3 separate regions of the Homo sapiens genome follow, and regions 2 and 3 are each linked to region 1. Evidence: promoter capture Hi-C in human tissues and cell types (Jung and others, 2019). All regions are on one chromosome and are shown on one strand. The core of a region is centred on a gene start or on the middle of the fragment in contact, and the rest is flanking DNA. Distances in the headings are between cores, read along the strand shown.

Evidence for each region. The method cuts DNA at HindIII sites, captures the fragments that hold promoters and counts their contacts. A contact is called where the count stands out against the background at its distance.
Region 2: a fragment that was not itself captured here is called in contact with the fragment with the promoter of PRMT2 in region 1 in 2 of the 25 tissues and cell types used here (lymphoblastoid cells and mesendoderm cells).
Region 3: a contact is called between a fragment that was not itself captured here and the fragment with the promoter of PRMT2 in region 1, in 1 of the 25 tissues and cell types used here (lymphoblastoid cells).

Annotation. Positions count from the first base shown.
Region 1 is chr21:46,632,454-46,637,091 of GRCh38, forward strand. It overlaps PRMT2 (protein arginine methyltransferase 2), which reads left to right and starts at 3,221. Exons shown (of 12, transcript NM_206962.4): 1 at 3,221-3,310; 2 at 3,986-4,094; 3 at 4,443-4,537. The coding sequence starts at 4,499. RefSeq lists an enhancer at 2,319-2,989 and silencers at 2,760-2,979, 3,090-3,639. The HindIII fragment of the contact is 3,678 bases long and covers 1,528-4,638 here.
Region 2 is chr21:46,404,254-46,409,061 of GRCh38, forward strand. All of the region lies in intron 27 of PCNT (pericentrin), which reads left to right. Among named protein-coding and RNA genes, the nearest start is that of DIP2A, 52 kb to the right of the region's middle. RefSeq lists an enhancer at 1-213. The HindIII fragment of the contact is 7,053 bases long and covers 1-4,808 here.
Region 3 is chr21:46,383,646-46,388,254 of GRCh38, forward strand. It overlaps PCNT (pericentrin), which reads left to right. Exons shown (of 47, transcript NM_006031.6): 17 at 2,187-2,338. Among named protein-coding and RNA genes, the nearest start is that of PCNT, 62 kb to the left of the region's middle. RefSeq lists an enhancer at 2,349-2,849. The HindIII fragment of the contact is 4,226 bases long and covers 1-3,916 here.

The sequences.
Region 1 (4,638 bases), core at 1,971-4,470:
ATAAGGAGACCAGTTTTATTTAGACAGAGACTCCCTATATTTTAACTGGATCTCTGAGCTCTGGGCAGACCCTACACTGAATCCTGGGTCTCCAAAAAGCGAAAATTATTATGAGGTTAGACTACATCATGCTTTTACAGTGCACTTAAAAAACTTTTTTCAACAAAGACATTTCTACATGTCTAAACTATACTATTCCTTAAGAACTCCAGAGTAGCCTCTGTTGCAGTAACTATTTTAGTAAAAAAATTAGGTAACACAATACAAAAGCAAGCAGTTTAAGAGCTGAGATGAAAAAAAAAAAAAGCTGAGATGAACTTGTCTGTTTACACATTTGGGGTTCCATAAGGAAACAGAGGTTTCTCCTCCAAGGGGAATCTGGCACCTTCTCCGTTTTCTGTAAGGAACCCTGGGTATTACAAACTATATTAGGTTTCCCATGAAGCAGAGGGTGCAAGAGAAAGAAGACACGACAAAAGTAAATGAAGAAAACAGAAGCCAGTCAACTAAGAAGAAAAAAACTTTTGCTCAAAAAGACAAGGTCCTAGGAGAGAAAAAAACAAAAAAAACAAAACTGGAAGCCTTTTAAATACAAACACACACACACAGGCACACAACACACATATGTTGGATGTTAGCTTTTAATTAAGCTTTTAACCATTGAGCTCCTTAAAAATAAACTTTTTCAATCTCATTACTGGCTGGGCATGGTGGCTCATGCCTGTAATCCCAACACTTTGGGAGGCCGAGGTAGGCGGATCACTTGAGGCCAGTTTGAGACCAGCCTGGCCAACATGGTGAAACCCCATCTCTACCAAAAAAATACAAAAATGAGCTGGGTGTGGTGGTGCAGGCCTATAATGCCAGCTACTCAGGAGGCTAAGGCATGGGAATCACTTGAACCTGGGAGGTGGAGGTTGCAGTGAGCTGAGATTGTGCCACTGCACCCCAGCCTGGAACACAGAGCCAGACTCTGTCTAAATAAATAAATAAATCTCATTATCATATTTCAGCTAGGACTAATTGCTGCTATTTCAGAAGTACCAAGTATCAAACCAGAAAGGGCTTAATTTAGGAACTAAACCCAGGCTGTGGTGGTGGAAAAAAAGAAGGCAGAACCCTTAGGTATGGAACTGCAGTGTGGGGTGACAGACATTACTCTTTTTGGTTGGTCTGGCTAGCAAAAATGTGGCCTTGTTATGTAAGAAAAGCCCTTTAAGTAGTCAAAATAAATTTTTTTTTTCTTTTTCCTTTTGCTAGCTGTTTTTCTCCCCCCACCACATCACCTTTTGTGTGTGTGTGTGTGGTGGGGAGGGGTTGAAACTTAGCCACTTCAGAGGCCTCACTTCTCATAATTTGGAACTTTCCTTTGGTTTCGATCAAGTCAGATAGAGTTCGTCAAACTCAATGCGAAAAAGACAAAAGAACAAAAAACAGAAACAACAACAAAAAAACCAGTTAAGCGAAACGAAGGATTGGGCAATTTATAAGGTTACTGAGCACACTAATGGTAAGGAGAAATTAAGACCAGCTGGTTGTTAATCTTAATAGCCAAGACAAACCCCAATTCAGTTACTTCCTAGGGATGGGTCTGAGGCTGAAGATTGCTCTCTACCACCCTAGAAGCAGAGGAAGAAAACCCCTCATCTTTCCTGTGGGAAGCGAGCTCAAACTCCATAAACGAGTTACCTGCCTTCCATTGTCATGGAAGCAGGAAAAAACTACTACTTCCTTATGTTGGAAGAGAGTAAAGCACACCCCGCCCCCCAACCCCCGCCCAACACACAAAAGGAGTTGTACAGCAAAATAAACTAGATCTTGACTAAATCTGGGTAGATCAGGGATTCTCTGGAGGGGGTGCTTCCAGGCCTCAGCAAATTGTCCTATTGGTTTGAGCCATAAAGATAGCTCAAGCTGGTACTAAGGACTGACAGATTTGTCAAAGGTCAGTGGCACCTCTACTCAGAATCCCTTTGTGGTTACCAAAATGTGAACCTTGAATATCTGAGTCAGATCTCAGTCAACTTAGGAAGTTTATTTTGCTGAATTTAAGGATGCACGCCCATGACACGGCCGTCGGAGGCCCTGATGACATGTGCCCAAGGTGGTCAGAGCACAGTTTGGTTTTATACGTTTTAGGGAGACATGAGACATCAATCAATATATGTAAGATGAACATTGGTTTGGTCCGGAAGGGCGGGACAACTCAAAGCAAAGGCAGGAGGGAGCTTCCAGGTCATAGGTAAATATGAGACAAATCATTGCATTCCCTTGAGTTTCTGGTTAGCCTCTCCAGAGGTGGCAATCAGATACGCATTTATCTCAGTGAGCTGAGAGATGACTTTGAACAGAATGGGAGGCAGGTTTGCCCTAAGCAGTTCCCAACTTGACTTTTCCTTTTAAGCTTAATGATTTTGCGGCCCCCAAATTTATTTTCCTTCCACATTTTTTTTTTTAAATCAGACTTAAGGTCTGCCTTGATGTTAATGCTGGAGGAGTGTAAAAAGGCATGTCCAACTCTTACTTCCCTTCGAGGCCAGAATAGTCTCTCAGGTTGAACTTCAGGGTCCCCTGGTAAAGGAGGGAGTCCAGTCAGACGGCTGCGGGGGAGGGGGGGCTTCGAATTTTATGTTTTACAGGCATTAGCGCCACCCATTTCTCCTTAACCCCAAACTTCCTCTCCCCACAACAGAAACGTCATCATTCTGCTTCCACTTATCCAGAAGAAAGGCAGAGGGCGCACACTGCGCAGCGCGGATGGGAAAGTTAACTGAATTATTTGCGGGAAGACAGAGGAGGTGGGGGGTCCCCCAAGCCCCAGCCATTTTGTGGCTCGTAGGGGTTGTCGCTTCCCAAGCCGTGAATGGCCCAAACCCGCCCCCCGCCCCAGGTCGGACTCCTGCCCCGCGCCCCTCTGGGTCGGACCCCAAGCCGAGCCCCCCAACCCCGCGGCTGGGCTGGGCGATTGGGGACGAGCTCCACACATGGAGAACCTGGCCTCGCCTCGCAAGACCGCGGGACGCGCAGATGTGAAGTGCGCCTGCGCGGGGCGCAGCCCCAGCTGCAGACGATCTGTGAGCGACGCGCCGGCGCAAGTCGAGGGCGGTGGCTTGGCTTCCCTGGAATGGGGGACGTCTTAGGACTGCGCCTGCGCGGGGCGCCGGGCCCTGGGCGGGGCCTTCCCGGCTGACGGCCTGCGTGCACTGCGCTTGCGCGGGTTGAGGGCGGTGGCTCAGGCTCCTGGAAAGGACCGTCCACCCCTCCGCGCTGGCGGTGTGGACGCGGAACTCAGCGGAGAAACGCGATTGAGGTAGGTGTCCTGATGGGCAGCTCAGATGGCTGGACTGCACGTAAGGAAGGACAGGCCAGGTGAGGCGTCCTCGCACTGCGTGTGCGTCGCTGGCGGACAGAGGCCTCCGCCCCCTTTTGGGACCTCCGAGCGCCTTCGCGATCTCAGCCACTTTCCCTGGCGTCCAAACGGGAGCTCGGTCCCCGTCACACCCTTCCCTGCGTGCCGCACCCCTTCCCGGCCACTCCCGCCGTCCAGCGCCTTCTACGGCCACGCCCACCCCACCACCATCTCTGTCACGCCCTTCGCGGCCACGCCCACCTGCCTGGCGGCCCCTGCCCCGAAGCTCGCGGCGCTGTCCCAGCCTGACCCTCTCGTGCCCCTGCGTCCACGCGTGGCCCTCTCGCTTCCTGCCCCCTTCTCACCCCCCTTCACTGGCCACCTGTTCCAACCCTCCATGATCCTGTTCCTCCCGAGGGCATCTTAGGAGGGCAGGGTCCTGCGCGCACTGCGGCCTCCACTCCGACCCCGTCCCAGTTTGGACCCAGGTCTTCCAATGAAAATATAATTATGCAAATCAGTAAGCATTTGTAACTACGAATATCACAAAAATAAGCTTCAAGTCTGGATTTAGAAGTGAAGCATGCATTTTAAACAAAGAATTGCTATGCAATTTTAAAAACACATTGATCCCAGAGCAGTGTGTGGATTACACTATCACTGGAAAAATACGAATTGAGAAGAAGGAAAAGACTGGAAGATGCAGACCTTGGTTCCTGTTAGTGGAAACACTGTAAGGTCCCAGGTAGGGACTTTTAATTGGAATTAAAGCTATCACACTTCTAAGAAATTAATGAATACTGATTTATTGCCTTAAGTCGACACCTGATCTAACAGAAACTAACAGGCTTCAGCAAATGAACAAGATTAACACCTTGCAGACTAGTGAAGAAAACACACTATTTGAAGTTTATGATTTTTAAATGCTTTTGTCTCTGTAAAGTATTGTAAATTTTCATTTCTACACTAATCTTCACACATACACATTTTACTTCTATTTGGTAGAGGACATCATGCACATTAGAAGTTAAGTGAACTCAATTATTAAGCAATGTAACAAGTACTTTGTGTCTCCTTCTCTTTTTAAAAGTAGAAATGGAAAAGAAAATGAAATAAATCAGCAGTTATGAGGCAGAGCCTAAGAGAACTATGGCAACATCAGGTGACTGTCCCAGAAGTGAATCGCAGGTAATTTCCGTTCCACTTCCTAAAAATCTGTGTTTAATGAATGTGAGCATTACAGAGAGCTAAGCGTCAGCTCACAGATGTGATGGAGCTTGGCTTGTGCC
Region 2 (4,808 bases), core at 50-2,549, 230 kb before region 1:
AAATTTTCAAATTGATTTTCCATTTTTCCAATTTAAAACTGTAGGCTTATTTAATTAGGACATTTCATATCTGTAGGGTCAGTGGAATATTTCCCTATTAAGGTTCTGTCGGCTCTGTTTTGATATGGTTGTTGTTATTACCATTTCCACCGGCATTTCTGCCCAACAAAGAAGAGGAGATAGTGCGTGTGAACGAGCAGCTCTAGGCACCGCAGGTTTACCTCGGCGAGGTACGCCACTCCCTGGTGCTGGGGGAGAAGGGGCTCTTCTCACGCTTCTGGCTACGCCTGCGTCTCCTGTACGAAGTCCTCATAGTTTCTGGGTGTGATTGACTGGGGCCTTGGCTTTCCAGGATGACAGTCTTCTGTTTCCTCATACAATATTTATAATACTTTTCAAAATTAATTTTATCAGTTGGGCACGGTGGCTCAAACGCCTGTATTCTCAGCACTTTGGGAGACTGAGGAGGGTGGGTTACTTGAGCTCAGGAGTTCGAGACCAGCCTAAACAACATGGGAAAACCCCATCTCTACTAAAAATACAAAAATTAGCCAGGCATGGTGACACACCACTCCGGAGACTGAGGCAGGAGAATCACTTGAACCCAGGAGATGGAGGATGCAGTGAGCTGTGATTGTGCCACTGCACTCCAGCCTGGGCAACAAAGCAAGACCCTGTCTCAAAAACAAAATTAACTTTATGGCCGGGCACAGTGGCTCTCACACCTGTAATCCCAGGAGTTTGGGAACCTGAGGTGGGAGGATCGTTTGAGCCCAGGAATTCGAGATCAGCCTGGACAACGTAATGAGACCCATCTCTACAAATTTTTTTAAAAAATTTAGCCAGGCATACACCTATAGTACCAGCTACTCTGAAGGATGAGATAGGAAGATCACTTGAGCCTGGGAGGCCAAGGCCACAGTGAGCTGTGATCATGCCACTGTAATCCAGCTGTAATGACAGAACAGGACCCTGCCTAAAAAAAAATAATTTTGGAGGGGACCATAGAAGTAAGGAGAAGTTTGTCTCCAGTTTGTCACTTTTAATTTCCCTTTGACAGAGGCTACTGAGATGTTATCTGTCTTAGTATCTGATTGTATCTTGTATATTTGGCAAAAATTTAAAAATAGCCTTTTGGGTTACATTGAAGAATGCCTTTTATGGCCAGGAGCGGTGGCTCACGCCTGTAATCCCAGCACTTTGGGAGGCCCAGGCGGGCAGATCACTTGAGCTCAGGAGTTCGAGACCAGCCTGGCCAACATGGTGAAACCCCGTCTCTACTAAAAACACAAAAGTTAGCTGGGCCTGGTGGCCGGTGCCTCTAATGGTTACTTGGGAGGCTGAGGCAGAAGAATCACTTGAACCCAGAAGGTGGAGGTTGGCAGTGAGCCGAGATTGCGCCACTGCACTGCAGCCTGGGCGACAGAGCAAGACTCGTCTCAAAAAAAAAAGAATGCCTTTAAAAACCATTGATTACTTTTCAGAAGAAGTTGTATTATTTGTCTATAGTGCTCTAGAACTTGACCTCTAACTATAATCTTATATAATGAAAAATATATAAAAAATAGTTTACATGTTAAGGACAGTATTTTTGTTCCATTAAGAATTGAAAGCTTTTTAAGGACAATCCCCAATATTTTCTTGTGGGATTTTTCTTACAGATATGTGCAAATTCGTACATCCTTCATTTTCTGTAATTCTCCTAATTTTTTGTAAAGATGCGGATGCTATTTTGCTTTATATAATAAAGAAAAGTAAAATTCCATTTAAAGGTTTGACTCTTGTTAGGTTTCCAGTTATTTCAAGGAAACCACATTTGCTGTATTCTACCCTATTTTATGTCAGTGAAGATGTTTGTCTTCTAGAAGCGTCTTTTACACTTGTGGGGAAACGGAGCTCCCGTCTCCCTGGCGTGGTCGTGGTTGTTGTCACTTGTTCTGTACTGCCGTCCTCCGGGGCTCCAGCCATCCTAACACCTCATCCTCAATGTGGGCCCTCCCTCCCTGTGTGGCTTATTCTAACTCTGGGGTTAGTGATGTTTCTTTAATTTTACCATTTACTTCTCCCTTATTCTACAGGTTTTAATAAAGAGGTCTCACGTCTTTTGTTAAATTTATCCTTAAATATTTTAGGTTTTTTGCACTATTGTAAGTGAGATTTAAAATAATTATCTAGTTGTTTACCGTGAATACACATACACCTTTTGTATGTTAACCTTGCTGTTACCTTGCACAATTTATGTATATTAGTAGCGTTTTGTGGATTCCTGAAGGCTTTTTATGTATAAGATAACATCATCTTCAGATAAAGACAGTTTTATTTCTTTCCAATTTTTGTTATTTCCTTCTTTTATTACAATGTCTAGCACTCCCAGTACAAAGTTAAAACTGGCTAGGGCAGTCATCTTTGCCCAGCTCCTTGTCTTACAGGGAAGTGGTCAGTGTTTTGCCATTAAGTATATTAGCTTTAGGTTTTTCACAGGTGCCTTTTTATCAGATCAAGGAAGTTCTGTTATATTTCTAGTTTGCTTTTTCTGGATCTATTGAAATAGTGATGATATTTTTCTCTTTTATTCTACTAATAAGGTTAACTTTATTGAGTGATTTATTTCTTGGAGATTAAACTAACCTTGCGGTTCTAGGATAAACCATACCTGGTAGTGATGTACTGCCCTTTTCATATGTTACAGATATTACTGAATTTGATTTGCTAATATTTTGTTAATGGTTTTTGCATCTGTGTTCATGAGGGATGTTGGTGCATAATTGTCTTTTCTTGCAGTGTTCCCTAAGGCTTTGTATGAAGGTTATGTTAGTCTCATAAAATAGATTGGGAATTTTTTCACTTTCTTTTCTGAAAGAGGTTATTTAACATAGCTGGGATTTCTTCTTTGAATGTTTTCATAGCATCAACAATGAAGCCATTTGGAGTTTTATATCTAGAGAGATTGATGGTAATTAATTTTCTTTAACAGACTGAGGTATTTGGATTTCTGTTTCATGTTGTGATAAGTTGTATTTTTCAAGGAACTTGTGCATGTCATCAAAATTGTCAAATTTCTTTGCATAAAGAAGTTTATACTTTCTCTTTTTTTTTTTTTTTTTTTGAGACGGAGTCTTGCTCCGTCACCCAGGCTGGAGTGCAATGGCGCGATCTCGGCTCCCTGCAACCTCCGCCTCCCGGGTTCAAGTGAGTCTCCTGCCTCAGCCTCCCGAGTAGCTGGGACTACAGGCGCCTGCCACCAGGCCCGGCTAATTATTTTTGTATTTTTAGCACAGACGGGGTTTCACCGTGTTAGCCAGGATGGTCTCGATCTCCTGACCTCGTGATCCGCCCGACTCGGCCTCCCAAAGTGCTGGGATTACAGGCGTGAGCCACCGCGCCCAGTCTATACTTTCTCATTTTGTAACTGTTCACCTTATTAACCATTTCCTTACTTGCCATTGAATATCTGCAGGTTTTATGCTGATGGCCCTCCTTTTATTCCTGATATTAGTGAGTTCGTGTTTTCTCTTTTATTCTTGAGTCTGTCTAGCTAGTAGTTTATCCATGTTGTCAGTGTTTTCAAAGAATCAGCTTTTGGCTCTGATACTTTTCTCTCTTTATTTCTTTGATTTCTCCTCTTATTTTCATTATTGGCTTCCTTCTATTTACCTTGGGTTTATTTTCTCTTCTTTTTCTAGCTTTTTCAGATAGAACCTTAGGTCATTGATTATAGATACTTATTTTTCAGTATAACAATTTAAGTTTTTTGTTTTTAGACTTCGTGCATAGTAAAATTAGTTTTTTTTAGTATACAGTTTTATAAATTTTGAAAAAAGGATTTAGTCCTGTAATAATCACCACAATCTCATCACTCAAAAAATTTTCTTTGTGCTGTTTCTTTGTGGCCACCCATCAGGCCTGCTGTCTTCCTGTCTGGAATTCTGTTTCGAGTCAGGTGTTGTAATGCACTGGAAATTGATGCATGCTGTCGCCTGTGTCTGTTCCTTTAGTTGCTGAGTACTGTTGTCTGGATGGACCACAGTTTGTTGATCCATTCACCCATCGAGGGACATTTGGATAGTTTCTAGGTTTTGGCAGTGATGAATCGAGCCACCATAAACTTTCATGCATAGCTTTTTGGGAGAAAATAAATGTTCACTTCTTTCGGTTCAGTACTTAAACTGAATGCATGGCTGATTCATGTGTAAGTATATATTTAACCTTAAAAGAAACTGTCAAACTGTTTTCTATAGTTGCACTACCGTTTTACATTCCACCAGCAATAGATGAGTGTTCCGGGTAACCACGTTCTCATCAACATTTGGTAAGGTCAGTCTTTTTTTCTAGACATTCTGGTAGATATGTAGTGGTATATCCTAGAGTTTTGTATTTCCTTAATGACTAGTGATCTTGAGCATCTTTTTCTATGCTATTTGCCATCCATATTGTGGGGGAAATGTTTGCTTAAGTCTTTCAGAAAGTTTTTTTTTTTTTTTTTTTTTGAGACAGAGTCTCATTCTGTGGCCCAGGCTGCAGTGCAGCGGGAACGTGTCAGCTCACTGCAACCTCCACCTCCTGGGTTCAAGCAATTCTCCTGCCTCAACCTCCTGAGTAGCTGGGATTACAGGCGCCGCCACCACACCCAGCTAATTTTTTAATGTTTTTAGTAGAGACGGGGTTTCATCACGTTGGCCAGGCTGGTCTCGAACTCTTGACCTCTGGTGACCCACCTGCCTCGGCTTCCCAAAGTACTGGGATTACAGGCATGAGCCACCGTGCCCCACCTCAGAAAGTTTTAAAAAGTTGGATTGTTCGGTTTCTTA
Region 3 (4,609 bases), core at 554-3,053, 250 kb before region 1:
TTGTGCATTCAGTGGCGGAAGCGCATTCACAGTGTTGTGTATTCAGTGGCGGAAGCGCATTCACAGTGTTGTATATTCAGTGATGGAAGCGCATTCACAGTGCTGTGCATTCAGCAGCGGAAGCGCATTCACGGTGTTGTGCGTTCAGTGGCAGAAGCGCATTCACGGTGTTGTGCGTTCAGTGGCGGAAGCGCATTCACCATGTTGTATATTCAGTGACGGAAGCGCATTCACGGTGTTGTGCATTCAGTGGCAGAAGCGCATTCACAGTGTTGTGCGTTCAGTGGCAGAAGCGCATTCACAGTGTTGTATATTCAGTGGCGGAAGCGCATTCACCATGTTGTATATTCAGTGGCGGAAGCGCATTCACAGTGTTGTATATTCAGTGATGGAAGCACATTCACAGTGCTGTGCATTCAGCAGCGGAAGCGCATTCACAGTGTTGTATATTCAGTGGCGGAAGCGCATTCACAGTGTTGTATATTCAGTGATGGAAGCACATTCACAGTGCTGTGCATTCAGCAGCGGAAGCGCATTCACGGTGTTGTGCGTTCAGTGGCAGAAGCGCATTCACGGTGTTGTGCGTTCAGTGGCGGAAGCGCATTCACAGTGTTGTATATTCAGTGGCGGAAGCGCATTCACAGTGCTGTGCATTCAGTGGCGGAAGCCCATTCACGGTGTTGTGCATTCAGTGGCGGAAGCGCATTCACAGTGTTGTATATTCAGTGACGGAAGCGCATTCACGGTGTTGTGCATTCAGCAGCGGAAGCGCATTCACCATGTTGTATATTCAGTGATGGAAGCGCATTCACGGTGTTGTGCATTCAGTGGCAGAAGCGCATTCACGGTGTTGTACATTCAGTGACGGAAGAGCATTCACGGTGTTGTGCGTTCAGTGGCGGAAGCCCATTCACGGTGTTGTGCATTCAGTGGTGGAAGCCCATTCACAGTGCTGTACATTCAGTGGCAGAAGTGCATTCGTGGTGTGCATTCAGGGGCGGAAGTGCATTCACGGTATTGTGCATAGTTCAGTGGCAGAAGCGCATTCACGGTGTTGTGCGTTGAGCGGCGGAAACACATTCATGGTGTTGTGCGTTGAGCGGCGGAAGCGCATTCACGGTGTTGTGCGTAGTTCAGTGGCGGAAGTGCATTCATGGTGTTGTGCGTTGAGCGGCGGAAGCGCATTCACGGTGTTGTGCGTTCAGTGGCAGAAGTGCATTCACAGTGTTGTGCATAGTTCAGTGGTGCAAGTGCATTCATGGTGTTGTGCGTAGTTCAGTGGTGCAGGCACATTCACGGTGTTGTACATTCGGTGATGGAATCACATTCACAGTATTGTGCAGCCATCACCACCATCCATCTCCAGAAGTCTTCATCTTGCAAAACTGAACTCTGTCCCCATTAGACTCTCACTCCCCATTTGCCCTCCCCTGGCACCATGGCTCACACCTTTAATCCCAGCACTTCGGGAGGCTGAGGCAGGAGGACCACTCCAGCCCAGGAATTCGATACCAGCCTGGGCAACATAGGGAGACCCTGTCTCTATAAAAAATTAAAAAAATTAGCCGTGTGTGGTGGCACGCACCTGTAGTCCCAGCTTCTCAGAAAGCTGAGGTGGGAGGATTGTTTGTGCCCTGGAGTTTGAGGCTACAGTGAGCTGTGATTGTGCCACTGCACTCCAGCCTGGGCAACAGAGTGAGACCCTGTCTCAGAAAGAAAGATCTTTGCCTGCCTGGCAACTGACTTTTGTGAATGACCAGATACAGTGACTTATTTCGAATTGCTGTTTGAGTGGTGGATCTCTGATGAACTGGCCCCTTCCCTCCCCTAGCCTCAGGTTCCACCTGGGGATGTTTGTGTATTCTTTTGTAAATGATGAATAATGGAGGAAAAACCGTATCAATAATTTTCACCTTTAATCAGCACCTCGTTCACCTTTGCCGTATTTTTATTAAATGTGCAGGTGCTCCTTGGCCTTTGCTGAGGTCACGCCTTTGACCACTGTCAGTGGAAGGCGTTGTGAGTCGAGGAACGTGCCGAAGTGCCTGCTCCTTTTGCCCCATCACCAAGCTGAAAAGTCCTAAGTCAGAGACTCTCAAATACTGAAATTGTGTTGAAAGTCCCTTACAGCCATTTGCTTTTAACCAAATTGTTTTAACGAAAGCTTTAACCATTTTTCTCGATAGCTGAAAGACCAGGTTTTATCCTTAAGTCACGAGATAGAAGAGTGCCGCTCCGAGTTGGAGGTGCTGCAGCAGAGGCGGGAGCGGGAGAACCGGGAAGGCGCAAACCTCCTCTCCATGCTCAAGGCCGACGTCAACCTGTCCCACAGCGAAAGGTCAGTGTGTCCTCGGCACCGAGGCTGCCTTGTGGCCGCCAGCACCCGCTGGGTCATGCAGATGCCATTGGTCCCCACGGCTCCTGGCCCCGTGGCTGCTGCCACCATGCACGCTGGCTCCTGGTGGACGGGGACCCGGCTTCCTTCTTCTCTCAGTTAGAAAGATTGTAAGCACCGGGAAGAAATCGCCTGCTGTGTCTCATCTCCCAGCCCCCGTGCCCTCCTCCCACCCTGCCTGCTGTGTCTCATTTCCCCATCTGGCCAGATTAAAACCAGCCGTTATCTCCCACACAGAGCCCGACCCCTCCCCTTTAGTGTCTGCGTCCCCGCAGCGTGTCCTCGTCCCCGGCACGGGGTGCAGGCCCACATGTCTCGTGGTTCCTGTGCTTTGGACTGTGTGCAAGTGTCGTGCCTCATGCATCTCTCTCTGTGACGTGTGTTTCTGAGACCGGCCCAAGCAGGGGCCGTAGCCCTGTCCGTTCCTTTCTCCATTGGGAGCCTGTGCCTGGGTAGCTGCAGGCACTGGGCTGAGCGCCCAGCCCCGAGGGCTCTCCCAGGGCGGGGTGTGGGTCTGCTTACCACGGGCCGTGGGGCCGCCTTCCCTGAACGCATGGGTCCAGGCCACATCCTGCCTTGGTGCCTCCTCACCTGCAGTGATGCTGTCCAGCAGGCTTGTCTGCCCTTTTGTCGCGTGTGGGGTCTTGAGAAACTTTTTGCTCCTCTGACACCATGGAGGTTTTTCCCAGGTCACCTCACAGGGTTTTAAGTTTTGCTTTTGTGTGACTCTGGGGTGAGCCTGCAGAGTTGTTCTTGCTTGCACCTGTCTGGGCAGTGGACTCGGCACTGTGTTGCCAAACGCAGCCTCCCCTTGGTGCGCGTCCTCCCCGTCCCCTTGTGTGGGTCTTTGGCTGCTCCCATTGGCGTGTCCCCGCCCGAGGCCTCTGTGTCCTGCTGCTGCTCCCATCTGTGTGTCCCCGCTGAGGCTTCTGGGTCCAGCCACTGCTCCCGTCTGTCTGTCCCCGCCCCAGGCCTCTGAGTCCTGCTGCTGCTCCCGTCTTTGTGTCCCCACTCGAGGCCTCTGGGTTGTGCTGCTGTGTCCTGAAGCTCTGAACTGGTTTGGCTCTGCTCTGGAGACCACCCAGGGTCCGGAGACCAGGTCGGGCTTATGGGACCCTCTGAGCTCACAGCTGTTTCTGGAGCATTGGTGTCTGTCATGCTGAGGGTCCATCCGTGTGTGGGGGGTGTCTGTGCAGGTCTCTCTTTGTTCTTTTCATCAAGTTTTGTGATTTTTCTGTGAGGACCTTGCCTTCTGTAGCACTTGGCTGTGGGTGTCTCGTAGCTTGGTGCTGACTCTCTCCAGTCACCCAGGTCAGTGGGCGAGCGAGAGCTCTAAACCGAGGGGCACAGCGGCCAGTGGGGCGGTCTGTGCTCTTAACTCGAGGGGTGCAGAGGTGGGTGGTGGGCGGGGTAGTCCCAGGCTCTAAACACAAGGGGTGCAGAGGTGAGCCCACGGTCCCTGGACACTGGAGAGGCTGCCTGTCTTGAGGTGGGGTGGCTGCAGACGCCCTGATGCCTGCAGGAGTTGGGCATTTTGGGGGGTGGAAGTGTGCTGGGGAGCAGGTGGCATTCTCTCCGTCAAGCCCCTCCTCAGGACTCCCCCTCCCTGTTATTTGCCCAGAATCTTCGGTTTCGCGGGGCCTGCACGACACTGCCTCCCGTTGTCACCTCACGGTCCCCACGAATGAGTCCTCATCGTCTGCTCCTCAGGGTTGGGCTCTCTGGGGACAGAGCTGTGAGCAGAGTAGAGGGAGGGCTGGCTGTGTAGTCACTGGGTCAACGTGCCTGTCCTCAGCGGCGTCACAGCTCCTAAATCATAGTGCAGGGAGCGAGATGTGGAGGGGCCTGTGGCCTCGGGAGCCCCTGTGTGTAAAAACAGAAGCATCCCAGCCGGGCGCAGTGGCTCACGCTTGTAATCCCAGCACTTTGGGAGGCTGAGGCGGGTGGATCATGAGGTCAGGAGATCGAGACCATCCTGGCTAACATGGTGAAACCCCATCTCTACTAAAAATACAAAAAATTAGCCGGGCGTGGTGACAGACGCCTGTAGTCCCAGCTACTCGGGAGGCTGAGGCAGGAGAAAGGCGTGAACCCGGGAGGTGGAGCTTGCAGTGAGCCAAGATCGTGCCACTGCACTCCAGCCTGGGCGACAGAGCGAGACTCCATCTCAAAAAAAAAAAAAGACAGAAGCATCCCAGACCGCACGTCCACGAG